4 separate regions of the Homo sapiens genome follow, and regions 2, 3 and 4 are each linked to region 1. The links are contacts of gene promoters, found by promoter capture Hi-C in blood cells and fetal thymus (Javierre and others, 2016). All regions are on one chromosome and are shown on one strand. The core of a region is centred on a gene start or on the middle of the fragment in contact, and the rest is flanking DNA. Distances in the headings are between cores, read along the strand shown.

Region 1 (3,389 bases), core at 357-2,856:
CTGTTCAAGAAAGGACAAGTGTAACCTTAAAATTGTTATAATACATCCGGATAAATTTATTACATAGATGGCCCTACATTTCCTATGGGTCTGCGGTTGTGAGCCACTGTTCTAGACGGCTAGGAGGGTTTGAAGTGAGTTGAGAACCTTTACTGTCCTGAAGATGGGGTAGGGGCTAGACAAGGGTATATTCTAAAAAGAGGAAAGCGCTACTGTAATAATCTTGCCTAGGATTACATACAGATGGGCATAACAGAGTCCCAGGACTTCACCCCTTCGGTGTAGAGCAGGGATGGCAGGGATGGCAAGAGCCCCACTTAGGATACCTGGAAAAAGAAATCTCCGCAGCAAAGGGTCCTTGTGCTGACTTTTCTTTTTCATTTACGAGTGTACCCTCTGTCTCCTTGGGGGCCCACCTTCTTATTCCCAGCAGGAAAGGGGAAGGGGGAGGACAGGAAATGTGGAAACCGCGTTAACAGCCTGATTGTGAACCAGCACTGCGACTGAGATGCGAGGAGGGAAGGACAAAAGTCCCTCCCTCGCTTTTCAAAAAGTAAGCCACAAAAGTTATAGAAACATTTTCTATTAAACATCATCTCCATTTTGCAGAGAACCTAAGGCTCCGAGGACTTGCCCAGGGCCATACAGCCGGTGAGCCCCAGGGCTCAGCCACAGCCCAGGTAACGAGGACAGGGCTTGCTCCAGCCACCATTGGCTGCCTCTTCGGCCTCCCTCTCTCAGGTGAGACAGTATGTCAGGTGAGGCAACTGAAACAATGTCCCTCAGTTCGGATGCATCCTCCCTCTTCGTTTCCTGTCATGAGACAGGTTTCTCCTCTTCCTGGATGTGGTTAAAAAAAAAAGAAGAAGAAAAGAAACAAAAGAAAAAAGGAAAGAAACGCAAAGCAAAGCCAAGCCCAACGTCTTGGCTCTCAGGGTTGCACCTCCTTTCTCTACCCGCGGGGTCTGGGCCGGCGGGGTGTGGCCGCAGCCCTGGGGCGCGAGAAGCCCATCCGGGCCCGAGGTGCTGGGCGGCCTGGAGCGCTGGCTGCCCCCAGGGCCGGCGGCTGTCCCTGGGGTTTCCCCGCTTCTGGGCTTTCCCCGCTTCTGGGCTCGGTGGCCGCGCGGGCGGGCGCCAAGTGACTCAGCCGTCCCCGAGGGCGTTCCGGGAAGCGGCCGGGGGCGCGGGCTTTCCTGTCGCCGCAGCGTGTGAGTCCCCAGCGCCGAAAGGGGATCAGAAACCGCTGGGCGGAGCAGCGGGAGGAAGCTGCGGCGCGCAGAGCAGAGTCAGCGCCACCGTCTTTCGAGCTGGAGCGGAGGGAACGTGGCCTTGACGTTGCTGAAGCTGAAGCGCCGGGCGGGCGCCCGGACCCCGGGGCGGGGCAGAAACGAGTCCGTTCCCTACTGCGGGGCGGGGGCAGGGCTGGAACGGGAGTTCAGGAGGGACAAGGACGTGGAAGGAGCCCAGCAGAGGGCACCCGGGACCCCCGCGGCCGGGCCGAGTTTGAAGGGAGCCCCTCTCCCCCTCCCCCTGGCGGAGCCCCCTGTAGGGTCTGACCTGGTGCCCCGCAACAGGAGCGGGAGGAGGAGCAGGCCCAGAGCGGCCGGGCCCCAGCCTAGAGGGGCGCTCGAGGGGAAGCGAGTGAAGTGAGGGCTCCGCCAGAGCAGCACCCCCTTCCCCGCCGTCCCTCCCGGACTGGCCGGTTCTCGTCAGAGATTCCTTTGTCTTCGACGCTGGTCCCTCCACACCAAGGTGGGAGGCTGAGGTGGGAGGTGGCAGAGCGGTGGGAGTGGGAGCAAGGCCGGAGCGTGGGTGGAGGCGCTGGCCGCGGGCTTGCAAGGATGGCACAAGGGAGACATCCAGGACAAACCATGGGGAACACAGCTGCCACTGAGAGAAGCTGCCCGGAGGAGGAAGGGGCTGCAAAGTTCAACCACCAGGCAAGGCAAGTCCACGAACAAAATCCCGGCTCTAAAAACAGAGCAGCAATTGTCACTGTGGGTTAGACGCTTTGAGTTACCTCTATTTTCATTTATGTCTAAGATAAATTCAAGAGACAAGGAGAAAGTCAGGAGGTTAAAATTCCAGCCTCTGGTCCCAGCTCCCTAAAGCCAGCTCCCTTCTTGTCTTTGCCAAAGTTTGCTTCTATGAATCAGTAATTAACCCCCACTTTTTTTCTTATGTCAGAGTTCCTTCAGTCACAACCAAGAGAGTTCTGACTAATAACACACCTTTTAATCCAGCAATTTTACTTCTGGGAGTTTATTCCAAAGAAATATTACATAACAAAAGAGCCATATGCCTCACAATATTCACTGTGGGCTTGTTCATAAAATTAAAACAATCATAACTATAAATGTCCAGTAATGGAGGCAGGGAATAAACTGGCATATTTATATGATAAACTACTATGGGCCGGGCGTGGTGGCTCACGCCTGTAATCCCAGCACTTTGGGAGGCTGAGGCGGGCAGATCACCCGAGGTCAGAAGTTCAAGACCAGCCTGGCCAACATGGCGAAACCCCGTCTCCACTAAAAATACAAAAACAAGTTAGCTGGGCGTGGTGGTGTGGGCCTATAGTTCCAGCTACTTGGGAGGCTGAAGCAGGAAAATCACTTGAGCCCGAGAGGTAGAGGCTTCAATGAGCTGAGATCGTGACACTGCACTCTGGCCTGGGCAACAGAGCGAGTCTCCGTCTCAAAACAAAACAAAACCTACGGAGCCTTAAAATGTTATATGTAGGGTTTTATAACTTGAATAAAGACTTCGGTTATAAGAAAGCAAGACACAAAATCATATATATATATAATATATATATACACACACACAGTGTAATCACAATATGAAAATGTACATAGAAAAAAAACACTTGAAGGAAATCCACCAAAATGTTACATCTTTGGGTGATAGAATTACATACAAGTATTTTTTTCTTTCTAAAACATTTATGTATTTCCCAATTTATCTACAATGAGGATAAGCATGTATTATTAAAAAGTATGAAAACATTGATTTTAAAATTTTACATATATAGTATATAATTATATATACATAATACATATATATATACTATATATATATATATAGTATATATATATATGTGAAATTGCTGCTGAATAGGAAATCACCGGGCCTGGGTGAAAGATGATAAAATTTACTTGAGCAATTTTTCCACTAATTGAATGATTTTTCTGCAATTTAAAAAGGGTATATGGAAGTTAAAGAGGATGGGTCAATGTTTATACATCTGTATTAGTTCGTTTTCACACTGCTGATAAAGACATACTGGAGACTGGGCAATTTACAAAAGAAAGAGGTTTAATGAACTTGCAGTTCCACATGGCTGGGGAGGCCACAAGTCATGGTGGAAGATTAAAGGCACTCAAGAG
Region 2 (3,389 bases), core at 232-2,731, 120 kb before region 1:
CTGTTTCTACCAAAAATAAAATAATTAGCCGCGTGTAATGGCATGCGCCTGTAGTCCTAGCTACTTAGGAGGCTGAGGCGGGAGAATTGCGTGAGCCCAAGAAGTTGAGGCTTCAGTGAGCCGTAATCTCGCTACTGTACTCCAGTCTGGGTGACAGAGTAAGACCTTGTCTCAAAAAAAAAAAAATTAGAATTAATACTTCTACTTCTACCCACTCTTGTCCTCCCAAGGGCACATTCACAGTAGATCCCAGAGCTAATGCTAAGAATGTTCTTAATTAGTAACATCAGTTCTCCCTCTGTAGAAAACTATGGATAAGTGTCATCTGTTCATTTTGTTATAAAATGTATAACTAAATATCTTTTTTTTTTTTTTTTTTGAGAAGGAGTTTCACTCTTGTTGCCCAGGGTGGAGTGCAATGTGCAGTCTCGGCTCACTGCAACCTCCACCTCCAGGGTTCAAGTGATTCTCCTGCCTCAGCCTCCGAGTAGCTGGGATTGCAGGTGCGCGCCACCACACCCAGCTAATTTTTGTATTATTAGTAGAGACAGAGTTTTACCATGTTGACCAGGCTGGTCTTGAACTCCTGACCTCAGGTGACCTGCTCGCCTTGGCCTCCCAAAGTGCTGGGATTATAGGCATGAGGGACTGTCCCTGGCCCTAAATATCTTTTTATTTGCTATTTTTCATATCTGAATTTATGTGCATGAAATGACCATTTAATTTATAATACCTAGGTCACAATGTGGAAATTACTTAATGAGGACTTGAAGTATTTAAACAAATTTTAAGGAACCAACAGTTGGAATACTATAAGAAGTTATCAGAAGTCTCAAAAATGTTCACTTCTTTAACCAATTAATTTTACTGGTAGAAATTCATTTGTACTTCCAGAATTTTTTTTTATTAATGAGAAGTTTATTGCATACTTAAACAGTGTTACAGCCACTATCTGAGGTACCAGAGTTACAGCAGTGAATTAATTACGTTGAAATCTCTGGTTCATAGAGCTTAAATTGTAGTGAAGGGAAGATTGACTAAGAAAGAAAACAAACAAAACTACCCCCAAAGTTAAAAATCGAATAAACATGGTAAGATCTGTGGAGAAAAATAAGCAGGAAAGGAGAAGAAGGGTCGCCTGTGGGAGTGGGATGGGTGATACAGTAGGGAGGCAGGAGGGCCCCCTACTAAGAAAGGGACATTTGAAGTAAAGAACAAGCTGTACTAAAATGACCAAACGTACACACGTATTGGGAAAATCCTTATCACATTGTTATTTATAGTAGTGGAAAATAAGAAACAGCCTGTTTCCAACAAGAGAGAAATGGGTAAATTATGGTATTTCTATATGAGAATACTATTGTATCTTTAAAAATTTCTATAGAAAAATATTTAGACTTGAGAAAATACTCACTACACAGGGAAAATACTCAATATACACACATGCACACATACAAAGTTTAAACAGCAGGATACAAAACACATGGTACTGTATGAAGCCAAACACAAAAGGAAAAAAGCATATGTAACTATAATACAAAGTTTACAAACTTTATATTGGAAATATGTGCATCTAGTTATAAAAATGATTATTGCTAAGTGATGTGTGTTTTGCCATTGTGGTTTTTCTGTAGGTTCTTAATAATCTACAATGAATGTGCACTGCTCTTATGGAAAGAAATTGAAGAGCTCCCCAGATAATGAATTTACTATCAGCAATGTCCCTCTTGAGTTATGTTTACTCCTGCGGGTCCTGACTATTTTATTGACCTAAGTTATAAGTTATATTGACGTAAGTTATAAGGTGTGATTTTAGGTGGTATCTGTGGTCTCATTTTCACACTTTGTTTTACAGGTTTGGTGTTTATGTTCCTCTTTGCTGTTTTCATCAAGATAGTAGAGCACATCTTCTTCTCACAGACTACAACTATGTGGTTCAGCACGAGGCAGTAGAGGAAAGTGCCTCGACTGTGGGAGGCTTGGCCAAATCCAAAGACTTTCTCTCCTTGTTGCTGGAGTCGCTAAAAGAACAGTTTAATAATGCCACACCCATCCCCACCCACAGTTGTCCCCTATCTCCAGACCTCATTCGCAATGAAGTAGAATGTCTGAAAGCAGATTTCAACCACAGAATCAAGGAGGTTCTCTTCAACTCCCTCTTCAGTGCCTACTATGTTGCATTTCTCCCCCTGTGTTTTGTGAAGGTAAGTGGTTATCTTACTTTTATGTGCTTCCTGGATTTGTGTGTGAATTACATAAACTGGGTATTTCTTGTTTAATCCCCCTTTTCTCTGTCTCCCCTTTGGCAGCCTGGATGGTGGAGTTCGGCTGCATCTGGAGTGCACTAATACCGCTCCTGGTTGGCGGATAGGTATTTCCATATATGTGATGCACCCGTGGTGGTTCCCTCTTTTTTTCTTTTTTTTTTTTTTTTTAAGTATTTTTAGTTTCTGGGGAGAATCAAAATGTACTTATAATAGAATCAGTATGTAGTAGCTTAAGAGGACCAAGGTTTCAGTAAAACTCAGCCTACTGTGGTTGATCTTAACATGGTTATCAGGAGTTTCCTTGAATTTAATCTAGCCCTTATCTAAACTTCAGTTTACTTTAATAGAAAAGAAAAATGGTCTGGATGTCACTTGGGCCCAAAATCTTTTGGTACATTTTAGTGCCCTTTCTTCACCCATTCAGAAGTACTTCTGCAGCTGGAATGGTCCTTCAGAGAACACTCAGTTCTTCTAGAAAGGAGACACTTAAAATATAATTGCCTCTCCCTCCCATCCCTAACTCATACAGCCAGAAAGTCAGGTTGAAGGATTGTGGAGGACTCTGCTCTTGAACTTTTCTGCACGGACAGCAGGACCACCAGTGCATGTGTGACTCAGTGTGGCATTTGTCTGCAGGGCATATGTACACCAACCCATCCCTGCCTCTTTTTACCAGTGCATGGATCATTTCTCTCTCTTCTGATCTCTTCCAGAGTACCCAGTACTATGACATGCGCTGGTCATGTGAGCACCTCATTATGGTGTGGATCAATGCTTTTGTCATGCTCACCACGCAACTGTTGCCATCCAAATACTGTGATTTGCTACATAAATCAGCTGCTCACCTGGGCAAGTGGCAGAAGTTGGAACATGGGTCCTACAGCAATGCTCCACAGCACATGTGAGTAAGCTAGAGGGTAAAACCATGTAACACTTTCTACATGCTGCTGATCATGTTTATTTGCTTTGTATGTCATTCTTGTTCTTGGCTTTGAACATTTAATTTTTAGTTTTTGTCTTACATGGATGCTTGTCATCATGCTAAACTGAATACAAGGGACATTAACTCATTTCCACCACCACCCCAGCTCCTTAAATGCGTTCTACCTTTCAGCTGCCCAG
Region 3 (3,389 bases), core at 410-2,909, 98 kb after region 1:
GAATGTCAGCAAAATCATCACTACTGTTAGAACAGGTAATATTTCTTTTAGATAAAACTTTGGACAACTCAGAGGACCAGCTCTGCAGTATAGACTTGGTGATAAACTGAGGCTCTTGAAAATCAGTGTGCTTATATAGCACACCTATGTCTGTATTTTAGTACTTGGAACAAAATGTTACTATTATATTGTTTTATAGCTATTTTTGTTTTTAAGGTTGTTGGTCATAGTTATGATTTATTTGATTCTGAGTTCTTGCTCAGGACAGTAACCTACAAGGTATAGTACTATTTTTATGAATAGAAAAACATGTTTGCTTTGGGCCAGGCCCGGTGGCTCAGCACTTTGGGAGGCCAAGGTGGGTGGATCACTTGAGGATAGGAGTTTGAGACTAGCCTGGCCAGCATAGTGAAACCCTGTCTCTACTAAAAATACAAAATACTCTGTTAAAATACTAAAAAAAAAAAAAAAATTAGTTGGGTGTGGTGGCACATGCCTGTAGTCCCAGCTACCCAGGAGGCTGAGGCAGGAGAATCACTTGAACCCAGGAGGTGGAGGCTGCAGTGAGGTAAGATCACACCACTGCACTCCAGCCTGGGCAACAGAGCGAGATTCCATCTCAAATTAAAAAAAAAGAAAAAGAGAAAGAGAAAAATATGTCTGCTTCGTGTTATTCTTATCAGGAAAACATTGTGGTAACTTCTGAGAAATACTTGCACTTTTATGATAAACCACTTAACTGGAATTCATTCTGAAGGAATTTGAATGAAGCAGCCATGAAAAAATTATTTAATTTTTTTATTACAGCTTCAATCATATTACAGGTCAAACTGTGTTCTTTTATTGCCCAGTGACGAATCTACCTCCATAAGGCCACTGTGAGGATTAGCCTCCACCAGTAGCATTATAACAGGATTCTCTTACAGGGATTTCTGAGAAACTTTAAAGTAGCTTAGAAATATTAGCAATAACTTTCTCTTTCTATAGGTTGAGATTTCTTGATCCTTTCTGGCAAGCTATTAACTAAGTCTCTTAGAAGCTTAGTGTAAATTCATAACAGAGGGTAAGATTGGGATTACCTAGGGTTGAACTGTGAAGCAGTAATACTAATTGACATGACTAGTATATAAGAAAGGTTTTGTAGTTTTATACAGAATACGTAAAGGTATTTGTAAAATTTTAAGAGAAAATTTTTTTTTGTTAACTGTGGTAAGAATATTTAACATGAGAGCTATACTCAATACATTTTAAGTGTACATTATTATTGATTATTTGAGTTATTTGTATTTTAAAGCTGCTTTTAAAAAATTTTTAATTGTGAAACACACGATGTAAAATTTACCATCTTAACTTTTTTTAACTTTTTAAAATTTTTGCTATCTTAACTATTATTGAGTGTGCAGTTTAGTAATGTTAAGAATATTTACATGCAATGTATCTATGCATAATTATGCAATATATTGGTTGCATAAATATATGCAGTGTATTTATGAAATCAATCTCCAGAACTTAATCTTGCAAAACTGGAACTCTCTATCATTAAACAACAAGTCTTTGGATTTCAAGGACTGTTTCTAAGTTCTGGAATATAAGTATGTGTGAAGCACGAAGAAAAAAATCAAATGGTCTTTTATTGTCATTGCATCTTCTCTGTCAGATCTTTATGTCACAAGTGTAGTCTCGTGCGTAGAATAATTAGAATAATACCATCTCCTGAATCCTAACTAAGAGGCAAACAATATGAAACTTTATCTCAGGAGCTTTTCAAGTTTTAATTTTCATATCTCTAGGCTGAAGGTAAAAAGTTTAATCGAGCCAAACTCTTGAATGTGGGCTATCTAGAAGCCCTCAAGGAAGAAAATTGGGACTGCTTTATATTCCACGATGTGGACCTGGTACCCGAGAATGACTTTAACCTTTACAAGTGTGAGGAGCATCCCAAGCATCTGGTGGTTGGCAGGAACAGCACTGGGTACAGGTAAGGTGGTTCTGCTGAGGGTGGCTTAGGTCGAGAAGCTCAACTATTGTGATCAAGACTGGGTGGAACAAGCATCCAGAGTGTCATAAGAAAATGAGAAATAGAAAAAATGGTCCATAATGTATGCATCACTTAAAGTGCAAAACAGAAGTTAGAGAATGTAATGAGGAAAAAGCCCTACAACTTCAGCAGAGGATCACAAAGACAAGGGAAAGCATTGGAGAGAAATATCATCCAAGCATTGCAGGTGGTGGCCAGTCTCACCCGCAGCGCCCCTGTCGGGGGGCTTTCGCAAGCTTTCCCACACTGACTAGAATGCAAGTAACTTGTTTGTCTATTCCTGACTCCCCCTCTAGGAGGCAACAGGCTGGTGTCCTTAGTGAGACCTCTGTTGAGACATCACTTTCCAGACTGTGGCCTCTTTCTAGAGTATGGGGAGAGGTGGGGGAGGGCATGTCCTCTGAGTAGTCTTCTCGGGAGCCAGGACACCCAGGACAAGTTCATTTCTCTCAAAGCCACTGTGAGAAGTGCCAGATGCCATCATCTGTGTCTTCATTCCCCATCCCCTCCACCCTTAAGAAGGGTGTAGCTGCTTTTCAGCCTTATTTGATTCACCAGCTCCTATTCAAGCACAACCAAGCGGGAATAGTGACACAGAATGTTTCTCTGCAAATGAAACACTATATTCCCTCATTTGTGTGCACACTTACCTGTCAGCTTTCCCCAGGCCCTGCTGTTCATGGGTGCTCATATCTGTGGTGCTGACTGTGCTGGAGGCCATAAGACCAGTTTGAATAAGGCAGAGCACCTGCCCTCACAGGGCTCCCCGTTGAGTGTCAGTGTGGGGAGACAGGTAGCTACAGTGGAGTTGCGTTAATTTTGCATTTCTGCAAATACAACTATAAGCACTTGGTAAGGAGGGGAGAGAGGGACAAATGAAGAGAGGAAGAAGAAGGCAGGAGAGAAAGAACTGTGAAACTATCAAATAATGCTGGAGATTCCACCAGTATGTACTCTACGTGAGTGTGAAGTGGAAAGTGAGTCTCTTGATACCTCATTTGTTCTGGGCTTCTGTGTTGCTCTCTCACTTTGGGCAATTTAAGAGAATTCTTAAGTAACATTGATGTAGGTGACTGTTGCCTCAGGTACTGACTTTAAACCCCGGCTGTGTGTAAGCTGCAGGACATAAACACCTAGAACAAACTATGGTGGGTGAGAGCACAGTGTCTTTAAGAAACACCTTGAAGGGAAGGGTTTAAAGCTGTTCCCCAGGTAAGGTGGTACCTTAATCTTGTGGAACAACAAGAGCTTCTCAGCAGAGTTCCAAGACATGCCAGAGAGCACAGCGCAGTTTTGGGGAAAATGCAATAGTTCACTGGTATTCTAGAAGGAATGTCTGCGAGGAGAGGCA
Region 4 (3,389 bases), core at 584-3,083, 75 kb after region 1:
GTGGTATGAGCTGTAATATCTCTCATTTCATTTCTAATTGAGCTTATTTGAACTTTCTTCTTTTCTTGGTTAATCTCACTAATGGTCTATCAATTTTGTTTATTATTTCAAAGAACTAGGTTTTTGTTTTATTTACCTTTTGTATTTTTGTTTTTGTTGTTTCAGTTTCATTTGTTCTGCTCTGATCATTGTTATTTATTTTCTTCTGCTGGGTTTGGGTTAGTTTGTTCTTGTTTCTTTAGTTCCTTGAGGTATGACATTAGGTTGTCTATTTGTGCTCTTTCAGACTTTTCAATGTAGGTATTTAATGCTATGAACTTTCCTCTTAACACCACTTTTGCTGTATCCCAGAGGTTTGGATAAATTGTGTCACTATTATCATTCAGTTCAAATAATTTTTAAATTCCTATCTTGATTTCATTGTTACCCAAAGATCATTCAAGAACAGATTATTTAATTTCCAGGTAGTTGTCTAGTTTTGAGAGTTCCTTTTGGAGTTAATTTCCAGTTTTATTCCATTATGGTCTGTGGAGCTACTTGATATGATTTCAGTTTTCTTAAATTTATTGAGACTTGTTTCATGGCCTATCATATGGACTGTCTTGGAGAATATTCTATGTGCTGATGAGAAGAATGTATTGTATATTCTGGAGTTGTTGGGCAGAATGTTCTGTAAATATCTGTTAAGTTCATTTGTTCTACAGTATAGTTTAAGTACATTGTTTCTTTGTTGAATTTCTGTCTTGATGACCTGGCTAGTGCTGTCAGCGGAGTATTGAAGTCCTCCATTATTATTGTGTTACTGTCTATCCCATTTCTTAGGTCTAGTAGTAATTGTTTTATAAATTTGGGAGCTCCAGTGTCAGGTGCATATATATGTAGAATTGTAATATCTTCCGGTTGGACTAATTGTTTTATTGTTATATAACGTCTTTCTTTGCCTATTTTTACAGCTGTTACTTTAAAATCTGTTTTGTCTGATATAAGAATAGCTACTCCTGCTTGCTTTTGATTTCCATTTGGTGAAATATCTTTTTCTACCCCTTTACCTTAAGTTTATGTGAGTCCCTATGTGTTCAGTGAGTCTCCTGAAAACAGTAGATACTTGGTTGGTGGATTTTTATCCATTTCACCATGCTGTATCTTTTAAGTGGAGCATTTAGGCCATTACATTCAACATTAGTATTGAGATGTGAGGTACTGCTCTATTCATCATTTTAGCTGTTGCCTAAATACTTTTTTTTAATTGTGTTATTGCGTTATAGGCCTTGTGAGATCTATGCTTTAAGGAGGTTCTATATTGGTGTATTTAAACATTGTATTTTAAGATTTAGAACTCCTTTTAGCATTTCTTGTAGTGCTGGTTTGGTAATGGCAAATTCTCTCAGCATTTGTCTGAAAAAACCTTTATCTCTGTTTCATTGATTAAGCTTAGTTTTGTTGGATACAAAATTCTTGGTAGACAATTATTTTCTTTAAGGAGGCTAAAGATAGGACCCCAGTCCTCTCTGGCTTCTAAGGTTTCTTTTGAGAAATATGCTGTTAATCTGATAGGTTTTCCTTTATAGGTTACCTGATGCTTTTGTCTCACAGATTTTTTTTTTTTTTTCTGAGATGATGTTTTACCCTTGTTGCCCAGGCTCAAGTGCAATGGCATGATTTCAGCTCACTGCAACCTCTCCCTCCCAGGTTCAAGCAATTCTCCTGCCTCAGCCTCCCAAGTAGCTGGGATTACAGGCATGTGCCACCATGCCTGGTTAATTTTTGTATTTTTAGTAGAGATGAGGTTTCACCATGTTGGCCAGTCTGGTCTCAAACTTCTGACCTCAGTTGATCCTCCCACCTTGGCCTCCCTAAGTCCTGGGATTACAGATGTGAGCCATCACACCCAGCCAGTCTCACAGCTTTTAAGATTCTTTTCTTTGTCTTGACTTTAGATAACCTGATGACTATGTGCCTTGGTGGTGGTCTATTTGCAATGAATTTCCCAGGAGTTCTTTGAGCTTTTTGTATTTGGATGTCTAGATATCTAGCAAGGCCATTGACGTTTTCCTCAATTATCCCCTCAAATAAGTTTTCCAAACTTTTAGATTTCTCTTCCTCAGGAATGCCAATTATTCTTAACTTCGGCCATTTAATATAATCCCATATTTCTTGCAGGCTTTGTTCATTTTTTAAAATTCTTTTTCTTTCTTTCTTTTTTTTTTTTGTCTGATTGGGTTGATATGAAAGCTTTGTCTTTGAGCTCTAAAGTTCTTTCTTCTACTTGTTCTAGTCTATTGTTGAAACTTTCCCCTGTATTTGGTATTTCTGTAAGTATGTCTTTCATTTCCAGGAGTTGTGATTGCTTTTTCATTATGATATCTATTTCTCTGAAAAATTTTCCATTCATATCCTGTATTGTTTTTTAAATTTCTTTTAAAAAAATGAAAATTTGGTTTTCATCTTTCTCTGGCTTCTCATTGAGTGGCTTAATTATCAACCCTCAGAATTCTTTATCAGCAATTCAGAGATTTTTTGTTTGTTTGTTTGGATCCATTGTTGGGGAGCTACTATATTTTGGGGGTATCATAGAACCCTGTTTTGTCATATTATCAGAATTACTTTTCTGGTTCCTTTTGGTAGACTATTTCTTCAAATTGTTCTTGAATTTATTTTTGATGGGATTGTGCTTTTTTAATTTATTTTTTCCCTCTTAAGGATTAGACCTTAATATTTATTCCAGTCTAATTTGATTCTTGGTGCTTGCAGGGGTGAAGACTCTGTATGAGTTCCTTAGTTATAGAGAGTCTTTGTGTGCTGGCTCTCCTGATGCTGATTGTAGTAGTTATGTACTTGGTATGTGGGCAAGTTCACTGTCTCCTATGAACTTGGAATGGCAGGGATCTCTTGAAGCTTATCTCATTCTCTTGTGGTCTATATTTATTTGTTTAATTTTTCCCCAGTATTTTATTTACTGAGTTGACGATTCAGGCTTCAGGCCAATAGGGGAGGTATTCTTGGGTAGGTACTAGTTGTAGCTAAAGCAGGTGAATAGATATAATCCCAATGGTGGGCTCAGGCCCCAGCCTTGATGAGGATGGCTGCGGGAGCTCACAATTTGATGTCCTGAGGTTTTATCAGGGTGAGGAGTAGGAGCTACCTCAGCTCCCTTCTCAGGTCATCAAGCTATTCACCTCACAGTCTCATTCCTGTCCCAGTGTTTCAGCTATTCAGATCAGTCAGGACCTCTTTTCATCTACAGGAATGTTGATGTTTCTTGCCTCTTGTGCAGGCTTGAATCTGGGGGGGTGCTTCTCCTGTGGGGCTTGTGCTTACCCTGGATTGTTCCAGCAAGGCTGTCTATAGCTGCCTCTATGCTGCATTCCTGTGGAAGAAGCTTCAGCTGT

The links. Contacts are between HindIII fragments. The CHiCAGO score rates a contact against its expected background, and 5 or more counts as called.
Region 2: a fragment that was not itself captured here is called in contact with the fragment with the promoter of ARHGAP31-AS1 in region 1 in 1 of 17 cell types (activated CD4 T cells); the score reaches 5.3 in activated CD4 T cells.
Region 3: a contact is called between a fragment that was not itself captured here and the fragment with the promoter of ARHGAP31-AS1 in region 1, in 1 of 17 cell types (activated CD4 T cells). The highest score is 5.7, in activated CD4 T cells.
Region 4: a fragment that was not itself captured here is called in contact with the fragment with the promoter of ARHGAP31-AS1 in region 1 in 1 of 17 cell types (activated CD4 T cells); the score reaches 5.8 in activated CD4 T cells.

What each region holds. Positions count from the first base shown.
Region 1 is chr3:119,320,977-119,324,365 of GRCh38, reverse strand. ARHGAP31-AS1 (ARHGAP31 antisense RNA 1) reads left to right here and starts at 1,606. Exons shown (of 2, transcript NR_046748.1): 1 at 1,606-1,752. All of the region lies in intron 1 of ARHGAP31 (Rho GTPase activating protein 31), which reads right to left. RefSeq lists enhancers at 221-1,077, 1,078-1,935 and silencers at 899-1,248, 1,299-1,658. The HindIII fragment of the contact is 4,466 bases long and covers 1-3,389 here.
Region 2 is chr3:119,436,570-119,439,958 of GRCh38, reverse strand. It overlaps TMEM39A (transmembrane protein 39A), which reads left to right. Exons shown (of 9, transcript NM_018266.3): 6 at 1,856-2,204; 7 at 2,981-3,168. Among named protein-coding and RNA genes, the nearest start is that of TMEM39A, 25 kb to the left of the region's middle. The HindIII fragment of the contact is 5,541 bases long and covers 1-3,389 here.
Region 3 is chr3:119,222,647-119,226,035 of GRCh38, reverse strand. B4GALT4 (beta-1,4-galactosyltransferase 4) reads left to right here. Exons shown (of 8, transcript NM_003778.4): 5 at 1,791-1,978. Among named protein-coding and RNA genes, the nearest start is that of B4GALT4-AS1, 2.1 kb to the left of the region's middle. RefSeq lists a silencer at 576-748. The HindIII fragment of the contact is 1,235 bases long and covers 1,042-2,276 here.
Region 4 is chr3:119,246,579-119,249,967 of GRCh38, reverse strand. The region is part of intron 3 of B4GALT4-AS1 (B4GALT4 antisense RNA 1); the gene reads right to left. Among named protein-coding and RNA genes, the nearest start is that of B4GALT4, 7.4 kb to the right of the region's middle. The HindIII fragment of the contact is 802 bases long and covers 1,433-2,234 here.